Regions from separate parts of the Homo sapiens genome. Here region 2 is linked to region 1. Evidence: promoter capture Hi-C in human tissues and cell types (Jung and others, 2019). All regions are on one chromosome and are shown on one strand. Each heading gives the region's core, a stretch centred on a gene start or on the middle of the fragment in contact. The rest is flanking DNA. Distances are from core to core; before and after follow the strand shown.

Region 1 (7,281 bases), core at 3,974-6,473:
CCTGCCCCATAATAATTCATACCCCAGCTGTTGACTTTAAGAGCAGGAATCTGAAAGGCTTGAGGTTTCAAGAGTGAAGGTAAGGGTAGCCTTAAGTTAGCAGAAGGCCCTGCAGAAAGGTGTCAGGGGATTCCCACTGTAATACTCAGGTTACCCTTTTGAAATAAAGCACTGTTGTTGACAGGTTTAGTTGAAGGTCAGAAAGTGGGGATCCTAAACATCTATTCCACATTCACTCTCATATGATGCAAGTGCTTAGAAAATGGTTAGGGTAAGCAGAACAATTAAAGGAAAAACATTTTCCCTTCAGCATTGGGCTTCTCAAGCAGTGTGTCCAGTTTGGAAAACTGTCCCTTCAGGGTTTCAGTGAATAGAAGTGAAAATATTCCATCTAGTGGTCAAAGAAGGGAAGATGAAATGAGAAGTTTCCAGGATGAGGTCTGTGGGGCAAGGTGACAGGCAGTGGCCTCTCAGCAGGTATCTTTTCCAGAACATGATAGAACCTGACCTTGGCGGTGGTGATATGTTTTGATTATGTCTGCACTGGATGAGGAATTGGGGACACCATCCTTGCAAGGCCTCTGAGCAAAACTGTCCTCACAGTGAGGAATAATGATGTTGCAAATGGCAGATTATAAACAGCCTGACTCTGAAGGGAGGCTCTCTCCCATCCCCAACCCCTTCCTTCTTACAGAGGAAGAAATGAGTCCAGTCATTCCTGCCTCTATTTGTCTGGAGCCTGAATTTGTGAATATGTGATTTTGAGAAGAATGAGGGTGTAATGTGAACTTTATTTATTTATTTTGAGACGGAGTCTCACTCTGTCGCCCAGGCTGGAGTGTAGTGGCGCCGCCATCTTGGCTCACTGCAGCCTCCACCTCCCGGGTTCAAATGAGTCTCTCACCTCAGCCTCCTGAGTAGCTGGGATTACAGGCGTGCGCCACCACACCTGGCTAATTTTTTGTATTTTTAGTACAGACAGAGTTTCATCATGTTGGCCAGGCTGGTCTCGAACTCCTGACCTCAAGTGATCCGCCTGTCTCGGCCTCTCAAAGTGCTGGGATTATAGGTGTGAGCCACCACACCCGGGCCATGAACTTTAAAAAGGAGGGAGAATCAGTCTAGCAAAGGATCAAACACCCGAGATGTTTGATGATCAGGAAAAAGATAAAGTGCTGTTTGTGTTCTCAGTAACTACACCCTCTATGCCCTTGCTATTGGTAAACATTAACTAAGCTGACTGCCCAGGAATTTCCCAAGGCACAAGTCAGATCTAGTTGGCCCAGTACCCACAGTGCTATTGATGCTTCCTGACTGTAATCCTCCTAACAGCCTCCCAATATCCCCAACCAAAGGGCTCATTGTCTTTTCCTCCTCTACCTCCCATTATCACTTTCTCTTTTTCCCCAGTTCTGAAGAAGAGCTGTAAAGGAATAATATAATTCACATTTCCCGTAACTGCACCTGCCACTGCAGACCTTGGCCAGCGCTTGCTTTCCTGTCAGTAATTAGGGCATCCCTTGATCCGTCAGATCCTCCCCTCCCAAAGCTTTGTGTGCTAGCAGCTCCTCTATCCCACCTGCAGTTTGTAGCTTCCCTCCGCCCTCTGTCAAAGAACACACACACAGGCTGGCCGTTTCCACACCTGCCCTTTATTGGTCTCTTCTAGCAGAGTGGCTCCAGGCCCTTCACGCCTCTCAGACACCACCCATGAGGGTTTAGGAAGGTGCCATCATTCTGTGAAGGCCCAGAGCTTACCCAAGTCTTGGAGCCCAAGTTGAATCACCAACCAGAGGGTTGGGAGAGGAAAAGGAAACAGGCAGAGGGGAAAGGCAAGGCTCTGCAGTGAAGGGGACTGATATCAAGGGAATGCTGAGGTCCAGCAGTGTCTCCTGAAGGCATGCTGCATCCTAAGGCTCCTCAGGACTGGATGGAGTAGGAGATCTGTGTGTTGAGCAGTTCACATCTATATGGCAACTTTAAGGAGGCGCTTGATGTCAGGCTCAATGTTGATGGTTGGGAAGGTGCGGCTGTAGCGTCGGAAGGGCTCTCCCTCCGGCCCTATGAGGAACTTCTCAAAGTTCCAGGCCACATCTGAGCGGCGCACAGGGCTCCAAATGATGAGCTTGGGATCGGTCATGAGGGAAAATGGGTCATCATAAGGGTAGGGGAGCTTGTCCTTCAGGTAGGCGAAGACAGGATGCTCGTTCTGCCCATTCACCTCACATTTTTGGACAAGGGTGAAGGTGGGCTGGTATCCACCCCCAGGACGGACATACTTGAGACTGTTCAGGATCTCCTCATTCTGACAGTTCTCCTAGGGGAGGAAAAAGACAAAGTGCGTGGACAGTGGGTGGGGGAAGAGAAAGATCCACAACATGAAACTCTTTCACCCTCCTACACTCCCTCCCCAGGGTCATTCTTTTTCACTGTGAAAGAGAGAGAGACAAGACAGACGAGGTGTTGCTCACTGCAGCCTTGAACTTCTGGGCTCAAGCATTCCTCCTGCTTCAGCCTCTTTAGTAGCTGAGACTACAGACACAGGCCACCATGCCCGGCTAATTTTTTTTTTTTTTTGTAGAGATGGGGTCTCACTTTGTTGCCCATGCTTTGGCTGCTCTTCAAGATTTAGCACTTCTGAGCTGTTGCTTTTGTCTCCAGTCTACCCTGAGCAGTTCTTAAGGTGTTTGAAGCAGAAGAAAGAGAAAAGAGGCTTAGGTTATACTGCTTAGAACCTCCTCTTCAACTAACCTACCGACCCACCTACCCATAAATCCATACCTACACACACACCCCTTTCCTTTCCTCTGCCCTGGTTTTGCCTCGCCTGCTTTCAATTGCACGTGTGTTGAGTATAGCCTTTGCCTCTGCCTACTCAGCTCCTTGAACTGAGGGTGAAATTGAGACCCAGAGGAATGGGATTTACAGCTTCTTGCTTTCTTCTTGCCTTGTCCTAGAACTGAAGTACAAATGGGAAGAAGCTTTGATGAAGGAAGACCCCCATCCAAGAACATCTAGTTTTCAGGTGCCATAACAGCAGAGCAAGTTCAAGGCAACAATGAATGTGTACTCTAAATGGAACTACTTAGTAACCAACAGGCATGAAGTAAATAGGATACAGGATTTAGGGTTTGGCAATAGGCCAGGGGGAGGGGGAGTTGAGGAAATAAGTGCTTGATGGCTAAAGATTGTGAGTATGTAATTATCATTCTTTTCTTGAGTAGGCTGCTACCCAAAGACTGCTGCACCTCCTATCCACTCACTGCTCTCAGCTACGCATGCTTTGGCTCAAAACCTGGTCCCTGCCTTTCCCTCCCCACTGCCATCCCTGTCCTATTCCCTCTCAGCATCACCATTCATGACAATCCAAAAGGCCTATGGGAACCCTTCTTTTCCACCTCTACCTTTCCAATTTAACAGACAGATACCTTCCTCTGGGAGAAAGTTCCTGCTTCTGACCTGTGAGAACTAACTAGTTCAGTCAGTTCCAGGCCATCATGACATCATGAGCCCAGAGCTGATCTCTAGTGGACTTCTCTGTTTTTGTTTCTGTTTTTTTTCCTGAGACAGGGCCTCACTCTGTCACCTAGGCTGGGGTGCGGTGGCACAATCATAGCTCACTGCAGCCTCGACTTCCCAGGCTCAGGCGATCCTGCTACTTCAGCGTCCCAAGTAGCTGTGACTACAGGCACATGCCACCATGCCTGGCTAATTTTTGCAATTTTTTGTAGAAACAAGGTTTCACCATGTTGCTCAGGCTAATCTTGAACTCCTGAGCTCAAGCAATCTGCCTACCTTAGCCTCCCAAAGCGCTGGGATTATAGGTGTGAGCCACTGTACCCTGGCAGATTTCTATTTCTTGATACAAATGGCTGGCTGGCTCCTGGTAGGTTATAGACTCCCTCCAGCAACTTGCTAGGCTGAAGAGATGGTGTGAGGCTGGAGGTACTTCTGGGGCTGGAGGGACATCTCGAAAGAGGGTTTGCTACTTCTGTCTCTCCTGCTCTAGAAAAGGCCAGACAGAAAACTTAGGGAAGAACAGTGAGAGCAGTGAACAGTTTGGGCTCAGGTTTGTCACAGCCAGTGATGCTTCAGCCTTCCTGCTTTCCTGTCTTCCTCACCTTCATACCACTGTGAATTGAACTAAGGGGATTATAACGAGAGGGTTCGCTTGGGTTCATTCTCCCTGCTTGTACGTTAAAATCATAGGTGGAAATAGAAGAATCCCTAAAAGAGAACTCGAGGTGTGTGGGCTGAAGATCTATAACAGCTTGACCCATTAATCAGAAATAGGTGCATGTAATGCCCAGAGGCACGTGCCTTTTGAAAACCTTTCTCTTTCCTGCTTATTTTCTTTCCACTTGGCTAATTTAAACCAACAAAAATCATCCTCAATCTAAATAACAGTTTGCTTGCATTTGCATAGTACTTTATATTTTTCAAGTTACTTTTGTATATCCTGTCCCCTAAACATCATAATAATCCTATGAGCTAAGTGGTATTATCCCCAATTTACAGATGAGGAAACTAAACCGAAAAATGAAGCGCCCTTTCCGAGGGCACAGAGCCATTAAATAGCAAAACCAAGTCCAGCTAGAGCTAAGGTCTCTTGAGTCTGTCCAATTCTTGTTTGATTCCTGGCCTCTACTTTCTCCACTCATTTATTCAACAAATATTTAATGAGTGCTTTCTGTGCCCTAGGCACTGAGGACACAGTGGAGAGAAACACAGACCTGGAACCAGCCCTCATGGAGTAATATAGTAGAAAGACAGTAAACTATAAAAATCACACAGCCTCAGTGTTTAATCTTAAAAAATATATACCTTCTCTTGGTATGTCACATGCACCTAAAGACCTAGCTTAACAAAACATACCCCATTATTCCAGACACTCCAAAACATGGTCATTCAGCCTCTCCTTTTATCCCACCTGAGCTACACCAACCCAACACTTTTGGTGCATTACAAGGAGGGACCCCTCACCTGATGTCCAAATTGGTTGCAAGGGAAGCCAAGGACCACCAGGCGCCTGGGAAAGCGGCATTGCAGCTCGTTGAGCTGGGTGAAGTCCCGGGTGGTTGTGCCTCAGAGCGAAGCCACATTCTCAATCAGCACGGCCCTGCCCCGGAACGTATTGAAATCTACCTTCTCCCCATCCAGGCTGATGGCACTGAGGTCATAGAAGGACTTGGCAATGAAAGCCATGGTGAAGCGCAGAGTGAGCCCCGCAGAGAGGCCTGAGCCCACTTATGAGCCTATTAGAGGGGTGGGGAGGAAGGAGGAGCCAGGAAGGAGGACAGAAAGGATCTAACAATGGAGCTTTGAGCATCCCCAGGATGACTTAGCAAAAACAGGTCCCCACCTGTAAGTGCTGTTTGAACAAGGAGGTTGCTCCTCCTATTAACAGACTGAACAAGGCCGCCTCCCCGCCCCACCCTGCTGCAACCTGGGAAGGGCCAATTTGATATCTATGAGCAGAGGTAAATAATTCACTGCTTACAGGAAACCAGAGCCCTAAAGGTCGAATGGAGAGGAAAAAAAGGGAGGGAGGGATGCAGGATTGACTCCTACTTGCCCCATCAAGTTGTTCTCATTTGACACAGACGTTTATTGAATGCCTGCTGAGTGTCAATCTCTGAATTGTACAGTGAGAGGGCAGGGTCTGCGGAGATCTGAAAGATGAAGAAGAGAATTGAGCCTCCTATCCATGGGACTCAGATGACAACTGAAATATACATATTCCTGTTCACGTTCTTCTCTTTGTTGCTTTCCACCAGGACAAAATCAAAGGGACCCTTAGGAGGAGAGTGTGTCATTTTCTAGGGGAAAAAAGAAGTTTTCAGTGCCTCAGCTCTTGCCAGGCTGAAGAGACAAAGTTGTGTTTATCTTGAAAAGTCTTTCAGTGCGTGGTGCCACTTGTCCTGGAGAACACACCAGCCTCTGCCCCTGCACTGTACCATCTCCTATATTATATCCCCCACCTCCACCTCATCCCCCAGCCCCCAAGTCATGAGGCTCAGTCGTTGCTGGGAGAATGGTGAAGAGGAGTCACAGAACAGGTGGATAAACTTAGTGGATGAACTGCACCTACCTTCCTCTCAGACAGAGATTTGGTCCCCAAGACTTTTCAGAGCGGGTTTGTGCTGGTCACCTTCCCACAGAAGGAAGTGTGTGGAGGAAGTTGAAGCTGCTGTGGTTCCAGACGCAGGCAGGTCACCCCTGATGCTTTCAACAAGAGGCGTGCAGTGCATCGCAGGACATCTGCTAAGGGCCATCTCAGAGGCCCACCCCTGGAAGCCACAGAAACCGAAAAGACCCAAGCACCCGCCAACTCAACAAGTTACTCTTTTAAAAATGCCTTGATTTCTTCATCAGTAAAACTAGCAATGGGGCTTGACCTAGCTTTGGGATTTTAGAGTGAAATTTCAATAACAAAGCAAATGTTTACTAGGGTGTTTTCACAGGGGCACATCCATTGGGAACTGTCTCCTTGGAACAAAGAATAAGCAAGTCCGGGGAGCAGCTGGTCTTGAGAATCTGATTTGTTGAGATGAGATGAAGTAATTATCACCAGGGAGCGCCAAGCTGCCTTGCAGCTTTTCCATGGCTGTTCAAGTATACAGGGACCATGTGTCTCAGCTGGCTGCTCCCTAAAAACAAGTTTCCATTACCTAAGTGGACAGAAGGAGTGACAGGAAGTGTAGAGGGAAGTGTGTCCCCTGCTGAAGCTGGGTGGAGTTCCTAGAAGCAACCAATAAGAAAGAGTCCCCACCAAGCCACTGAGTCACAAGGACTTGGCACTGATAGTGGGCAGAACTGTAACTTGCCGGATTTATGTGCATACCTAGAGCTTCCCCCTAGTACTCTCTGGGCCTCCAGAGACACCTCTTATTCTCTGCTCTTTTGCAAGCCTTCTTCAAGAAGGCCATGGGAGTTCCCAAGATGAGGAGTGTGGGGGTTCCCTCTTCCTTAGGTACATGCCATCCCTTTTCTCCTGGTGTGACCTTGGACCCTTCAGACTCCCAGGGTTCTCACCTTTCCTAATGGAATATACTTGGTGAGGCTCTCCTAAAATATCTCTGTCTCCAAATTTACCTCAAACTGGCCTCGCTTTCCAAAAGCTTACAACTTTAAGCATACACTAAGCAGCGTATGATTCTTATGGCTTTCTGTGGGACAGTGCTTGCTCTGGACACAGCACTGGCTTAGGCAGAAAGCCTGGGTTGGTGGTTCTTAATTCTGACTGCAAATGAGAATTGTTTGTAGGAATTTTTCTAGAGA
Region 2 (7,319 bases), core at 3,427-5,926, 150 kb before region 1:
AGACTACTCTTAAGAAACTCTGGCCTAGACTTGACAGGTTAAGGATGACTTTTCAGATTTGAAAAAAAAAAAACAGTGCAACTGAAGATTCCAGAGAATGACCCAATTAAGTACCCAGAGGTCCCCGCTCATGGAATCCCACAGCTCTTGAGCTAGAAAGGATCCCTGTGGACTTCCTGCCTTGAGGGAACTCTGCTTCTAGAAAGGAATCTCCAGGAAAGCAGCCACTCCTTGCTGGAGCCTCACCTCCTGGCAGTTCTGGAGGAAGTTCTGTAGCTCCAGGTTGTCTCTCAGTAGGACAGAGGCCTCCTGGGCCTTCTCGTTGTTCTTCCTGTGCCTGGAAAGGAAGCCAAAAGCACAGTCACAATAGTGCCGAGCTTGGGGTCCTCACCAAGCTTGGGGTCCTCACTACCCCCGTGTGGCTCTGGGGGCCTCGTGGCCCTGGGGCCCGGGAGTACCTGTCCTCAATCAGCTGCACCTTCTCCTTGATCTTGTCTGAGTATAGGTTTCCCTCAGCTACCAGCTTGTTTCCAGAGTCCACAGGACTCAAGACCTTATCCCGGTTGTTCTCCATAGACCCCAAGAAATCCTCAAACTTCCGGATCCCAGCCTCTGCAGCTTCCAGGGAGTCTGGGGGCTCCAAGTGAGCCAGAGTGTATTCCTGTTGGAACAAGTTTCCAGACAAGGCATGAAGACACACGGAGGAGGTGATGAGCACACCTCCCAAGTGGGAGCACCACGTGCAGCCACACAGGCCACGGTATGAATGAGCCCCCTAGAGTAGTACAGGGAGGAGGCACTACTCCCCAGGCCTTGCCCCCACCCCTACCCCAGGGGCACACAATAAACAGTGTGCCTAAAGCCACATGGAAGGCTAACCACCCAGGGCAAAATGCGCTTCTCTAGCCTCTGATAGACCCAAGAACAAGGCGTAGTTTGGGACACAAGGCTGGAAAAGGCCCCTAATGAGAAACAAAGATTTCCCCCATGAGTGAATACAGAGTACAAGACAAGAGTAATGTGGTCCCTGAGTCTTACAGCACATTTGTGGACTCACCACAAGAGCTACTGCCCTGAGAGACCCGCCTGTCCCAGCCCTGAATGCCTCTCTACCTGGTTGCTGAGGATGGCTTCAGCCTGCTTGGCATCTTTCTGGAACTCCTGGAAGCCAAGGCACTGAGCGAGGGTGTGGCTGCGGCTCTCCCACATCCTGCCCAGGGCATTCCAGCCAGTATCCAGGCCCTCCAGCCGCTGGCCCAGAAGCAGATACTCTGGGTCCGTCTGGCCTTGGATCACTTTCTCCCCAGACTCCTTAACACGCTGGTAGCTGTCTTGGTGCCCGTCAATCTCATCCTTGATACCTGCATGCTGCTGCAGGAGCTGCTCAGCCTCTGGGAGGGATTCGGGCATGTCCTCAGAGGCCACAGCCTTCTGGGTGATGGAGAGCCAGGCCTGGAAGTCATCCAGATCCTGCAGGAAGGCCTGCAGCTGGCTGACTTCCCCCAGCAAGTCCTCCTGGCCCTGCAGGGATTGCTGCAGGCCCTGCCACAGCTCCTCCAAGTGTTTTTGCCGCTGACCAATATCCTCCTTCTGCTCAGGGTGCGAGTCCATCAGCTGCTGGGACTCACGCTCCAGGGCATCCACACGGGCCTGGATGGCGGCCACGTCACGCTCCAGCCCTGACAACTTCCTCTGGATGGCGATGATACCTGCCAGGTCCCGCCCCAGGTCTTTTGTGGACTCCACTACCTTTGTCTTGTCCGTGATCCACTTGCTGGTCTCCTCGCAATCTACGCAGTAGTTGTGCACTCGGAGGGCTGAGTCCACAGCCTCCCGCCGCTCCGACACCAGGGTCTGAAATGCCTGCCACCTGCCGGATGGGGACACAGCCCGGAGGAGAGAGACACCTTCTCCCTTAGCTCTTCTTCCCATAGGAGACCCTGACCCCTTCCCACATTTCCCACAAGTCTCCCCCCACAGACTTTGTATGATAAAAAGAAAAAAAAAAATCTACCTAACGAAGTGTAGGTGAGCAAAATTCACTTCTCCAATTTTACTCAAGACATATATAACTGTCAATCAGATCTTTTGATCAGCAGGGGGCAATTAATTATGTGACTCCAACCATAAGTAAAGGAACATGAAAGCAAAGTCTATGCATGTAGTTGGAGTTCAGGCAAATATACAATTTCCCCAGAGTTTATGAAATATCAAAATAATTAAAAGGCTCACATTAACTTCAAGAATGCTTCAGGACATAGGGTCCCCAGCTGCCCTAGAGGAACCAAGTAAATGCCCAAGGCCACATGCAACGTCTCCTAGGGCCTGAAAGAGATCACCTTGGATCTAAGAGAAAAGATGCCCTGGTGAAAAAGAAGAGGAAGAAGAGGACAGGGAAGAAGAGAATGGGGAGGAATAAGTTGTGATGATAATTTAAGTGACTAGCATAATCTTAACCTTCGAGTGCAGTGTTGCTATGAAATACGGAAATGTGCTAAGGTCTGGCGGATGCCTGGGGGCCTGGGGTCAGTCTGCAGTACACGATAAGCCTCTTTCAAAGAGCTGCCCATCAGCCAGGCCAGACCACTAGGGACACTGCCCTTGGGCCTAGGTTCACTCATTCTGCATCACTGTAATATGCAGGCTGAATGCTCATTCTCTAATCGAACCCATCTTTCTCGAACACCCACAGGGGTATAAGCCATTTTATTGGCCTTTGGGAGAATATAGACATAACCAGACCATGCCCTGTGGGGTGTATGATTTAGAGAAATATTCAGACAAGCTCACAAATAACATAGCATAAAGTTTCATGTGCACAGCACCTAACAGGCAGAGAGGAGGATTAAGGCAGCTGGAAGGAGCAATGGGGTGACAGTTGCTCACGTGACCTCCACACAACCCATCACTGGACACAAAGCCCCAGTCAGTGAACACACCCCCAGTGCCTCCACTGGAGTGACCAATTAAAGGATGGGACCAAGTGTCTCATTCATCTTTGTACCCTGCCTCAGGGGATGGAGGCTGAGGGACTAGGAGATGGACTGGACAGAGAGCGCTGTTGTGCATTCCCAAGGTGTGACAACAGCAGCCAGTATGATTTGAAAGGTCTGCAGAGAGATATAAGAGACAGGCTGGGAGAGACCAGGGATACGAGAGAGGAGAGAGAGCCTGCAGATTTCTCGGCTCCCATCCTAGACCATGAAGACCCCGTGCTCTGGGAATTCCGTGCCTGTCTGGCACACAGATGGTGCTCTGAGGCTAGGAAATCAAGGGGTTTTCTCCAAGTTTGTTTGAAAGCCCTGGAATCGACAGGGAAGTGTTCCTGGGAGAGGGTCTGGCTGTGTCCCCAGGCAAGAGGCCCCATAGTGATTTTCCAGGCCTTTCCTGGAGTGGCCTCACTGTAGCCATTGGGTGGAGGCCACACCAAGATGCACTGGAGCTTGGGTCTAGTCTGCTTCCCAAACCTACACTTGCCCCCTCCACTGCACTGTCTTTGAGATGGAGGAGGTTGATAGAGCCACTCTAGTTATCACTGGTCAGGCAACATCAAGAGTCTAGGTTTGGTCCTGGGCCAGGTTTTTCTTCAACTGGAAAGCATACGGTGAAAGATGATCACACATTCATCAAGTGTTTGAATGACTCACACATAAGCTTGGCAGAAAAACCTTAGTTTTTTCCCAGTTCACTCATGTACTAAGCATTTATCAAGCAACTCTCAGTTGCCTTGTGGCAGACACTGACCTAGGCACTAGGGATATGACAAAGAACTATGCAGGCTGGGCTCAGTGGCTCACACCTGTAAATCACAGCAATTTGGGAGGCTGAGGCCGGAGGATCTCTTGAGCCCAGGAGTTCAAGACCAGCCTGAGAAACATAGTGAGACCTCATCTCTACAAAAAAAACAAAAAATTAGCTGGGTATAGTAGTGTGCATCTGTAGCATTAGCTACACAGGAGACTGAGATGGGAGAATCACTTGAGCCTGGGAGGCTGAGGCTGCAGTGAGCCAAAATTGTACCACTGCACTCCAGCCTGGGTAATGGAGTGAGATTCTGTCTCTATAAAAAATTAATTAATTAATTAATAAAGAGTAATGCAAAGTCCTTGCTTTCATTCAAGTGGATAGAGACATAAACAAGTCTATAATCCATCAAGTGGTGATAAGCGCAAAGAAAAAATAAAAGAAGGTAACAATATAGAGGCCAAGTGGGTCAGTGAGAGGAAGGATGTGCTGCTTTCCATGGGGCGGTCAGCGGGGGCCATGCCAGTAAGCTGACATTTGAGCTGAGACCTGAATAAAAAGAGTAAGCCAAGGGCATAGCTAGGAAAATAATACTCTAAACAGCAGGAACCCCAAAAATGTATTAGGTGTGCAAAGCCCTTGGGCAATATAAATAGATACAGGTCTTCATTTGTTTACATAGTCTAGCAGGAAAGTCCTTGGGGACAAAAATAATTAGAATGTAAGATAGGATATGAAGCTCAAAACCAGTACAAAGGAGGAAAAGATTGCTTTTCATCTGGAAAACTGGAAAGCAAGCGACTTGGACTGGCTCATGCAGAGACAGGATTTGGAATATGTAGAGGGAGGGAGAATGCACCCTGAGGGAAAGAACCGCAGAGGCATGAGGCGACACTGGGGGTGGAGGTATAGAATGAGCATTGTTCTGAAAAATAATTGAAGAGCTATACACGGAAGAGGAACCAGGGTAAGTGTGATATCTCTCAAGGGCAGAGCCAGAATCAATATGTACGCATTTCAAGGAGGCAGATTTCCACTCAATGGAAGAGCAAACTTTTTAACCAAAAAGAATTGCCCAAAAATGAGATAGGCTGCCGGGTGAGGGAGTGAGTTCCCCATCACTGGCTAGACTGGGTGACTTCTCAGGTTCCTTTCAACTCTCAAATTTAATTTCATGCCTCGGGTTTTTTTCTCACTTAAGGATGGCAGGTACCTTGATATTTTTCTCTTGGGGATGGGGCCTGTTTTAGGGGTCTGTAAAGATCAACATTCTCAGACTATAGTTTATTGTTGAGCTGATGAGTTCTTCCTCTCAGGAAGTTTCTCTGGTTTAGACCTGCTCTAGTTTCCTCAATTATGCAGCAATTGCAATAATCTCTACCACCTCCTGCCCACCAACACACACAAACTCATTACCTACAAGGCGAAAGAAGAGGGAAGAGGTATTCTCTTCCTTTGTAAAACATCAGATTGACAAAGGAATCTCCTAAACCGCACTCTGCAGCTTGGGCTGCTAAGACAATCATCCCATTCTAGTGGCTCTAAAGAATTCTGGTCATCGCTGCCTCCCCTTAGCCCCCCAGTGAACTCTCCACTGTGCCGATCCCTTTCTTTACAATGGAGTCTTCCCTAGGCCCACCTCCCAGATTGCCTCAGGCAGAGCAACGCTCAGGCACAGGTGTGGGGAAGGGGCTGGGGTAATGGGGAGGTGGTGAACATGTGGCATTGCATGTGCAGGGCCCACGGTAAAGACAGGGAATGCAGGCATTTGCGGTGTCCTCAAAGATCCTCCAGGAACTCATGGGCAATTTCACCCCACACTGAAAGCACCCCCTCTCTAAAGGCTCCTTGGGGCCTATTTTTTGTTCTGGCCACAAAGCTTGCTTAAGGCTCCCTGCTAATTCTCCTCTTCCTTCAAGCCAGCCTCATTATCGATACTGCATTTGGCAGAGGCAGGAGCATTATTTTATGGACAGTACTTAAGAGCTCTCAGAAAGCAATTTTCTCTGCCCAAGAATGTCCAGGGAAATATAGCATGAGAAGCATATGGCCTGATTCTAAGTTTGGGCACACTTGGGATGTGCCCTCCATCACACATACACACCCACCCTCCCCAGGCACAGCATTCGAGCCTCCCAGGACTCGTCTCTCTCCCTCCCTGGGCTGTTCACCACCTCAATCATTCCTCCTTGCTGCTATAGTTCCAGTACTACTGGGAAGGGGACTGTGGCTGAGACAGACAGGAATGTCGGTGGGGGCGCGGTGGCTTATGCCTGTAATCCCAGCACTTTGGGAGGCCGAGGTGGGCAGATCGCTTGAGGCCAGGAATGAGACCAGCCTGGCCAACGTGGTGAAACCACATCTCTACTAAAAATACAAAAACTAGCCAGGCATTGTATCGCACGCCTGTAATCCCAGCTACTTGGGAGGCTGAGGAACAAGAATAGCTTGAACCCAGGAGGTGGAAGTTGCAGTGAGCCGAGATCGCACCACTGCACTCCAGCCTGGGTAAAAGAGTGAGGTTCTGTGTCAAAAAAAAAAAAAAAAAAAAAAAAAAGACAGGAATGTTGAGGGTATAGAAGTGTTGGTGCATACTAGGTGGACTAAATTTTGGGCCCGGCCCCCAGCAGTGTGTCAGATGTTGAGAGACAATGCCCCCGCCCCATGCCCTACCCACACCCCACCTGGTGTTCAGATGGTCCTGGTACTGCTTCACCTCCCTGCTGCGTGGGTGGCCACTCTCTACCAAGCTGTTGGCAGCGAGGTTCACACCATCAATCTGAGTCATCAAGGTCTTCATCTCCTGGTCCAGGATGTCGAACCTGATATGGGCAAAGGAAAATATGAGGATGGGTGAGGCGGCAGCAGACATTTCCTTGCCAGTGGCACCCCCAGTCTCCAGAACATGTAGCTCTTGCTTTCTCCTTCCACTGCCTAAACCATTTGCCCAGGTGAGGCAGGAGGAAGAAAACAGATATGCTGGCCCTCCTTTCTGGTTCATGGGTTTGATTTCATGAGTTAGCATTGCCTGGAACAGGCCGGGAGAGAGCCAGTTACTTCCTACACGGGCTTCTGGCTCAAGAGAGACATATGAAGGGGAGGGAGGGCTGAAGAGAGGTTACTGTGTATTTGTGTGGGGGATGTCAATTGTCACAAGGGCCACCTTCCAGGCCTCTGCTTTTCCGGCTGTTGCTTTTGGACTCTGAGTCCAATGCCTTGACATCTTAACCCAAAAGATACCCTTTCCAGCCAGGTGCTCCATTCCTGGGTAAGATAAGGAAAAGCTGCTGGGGCGGTGGTCGGGGGGAATTTGTGGTTCTGAAGGCCGATCCTTCTAGGGTAAGAGCCCAGGACTCTCCAGCATCAGTGCAGCACCACCTTGGCACTGTTCCAGAGAGCGGCCTCTCCTTCTCCTGACTGCCTGAATTCTGTGCTTCAGCTGCTGAGATGCTGCACAGACTGGGGCATGCCTCATCATCTGGGGTGCTGACAAAATCAGAACACCAGGGGTGAGAGTGGCCTTGCAGACAGGGGGTTTGCAAATTCTCTCTGTGGCCCCTCAGAGTCTCCTGGCT

The links. The method cuts DNA at HindIII sites, captures the fragments that hold promoters and counts their contacts. A contact is called where the count stands out against the background at its distance.
Region 2: a contact is called between a fragment that was not itself captured here and the fragment with the promoter of GPX2 in region 1, in 2 of the 25 tissues and cell types used here (mesenchymal stem cells and pancreas).

Annotation. Positions count from the first base shown.
Region 1 is chr14:64,937,522-64,944,802 of GRCh38, forward strand. GPX2 (glutathione peroxidase 2) reads right to left here and starts at 5,224. Exons shown (of 2, transcript NM_002083.4): 1 at 4,984-5,224; 2 at 1,637-2,317. The coding sequence starts at 5,205. The coding sequence ends at 1,967. All of the region lies in intron 3 of CHURC1-FNTB (CHURC1-FNTB readthrough), which reads left to right. The HindIII fragment of the contact is 8,107 bases long and covers 2,266-7,281 here.
Region 2 is chr14:64,785,291-64,792,609 of GRCh38, forward strand. It overlaps SPTB (spectrin beta, erythrocytic), which reads right to left. Exons shown (of 36, transcript NM_001355436.2): 15 at 6,429-6,566; 16 at 1,114-1,870; 17 at 459-661; 18 at 247-337. It overlaps MIR7855 (microRNA 7855), which reads right to left and starts at 396; the gene lies at 336-396. The HindIII fragment of the contact is 5,305 bases long and covers 2,025-7,319 here.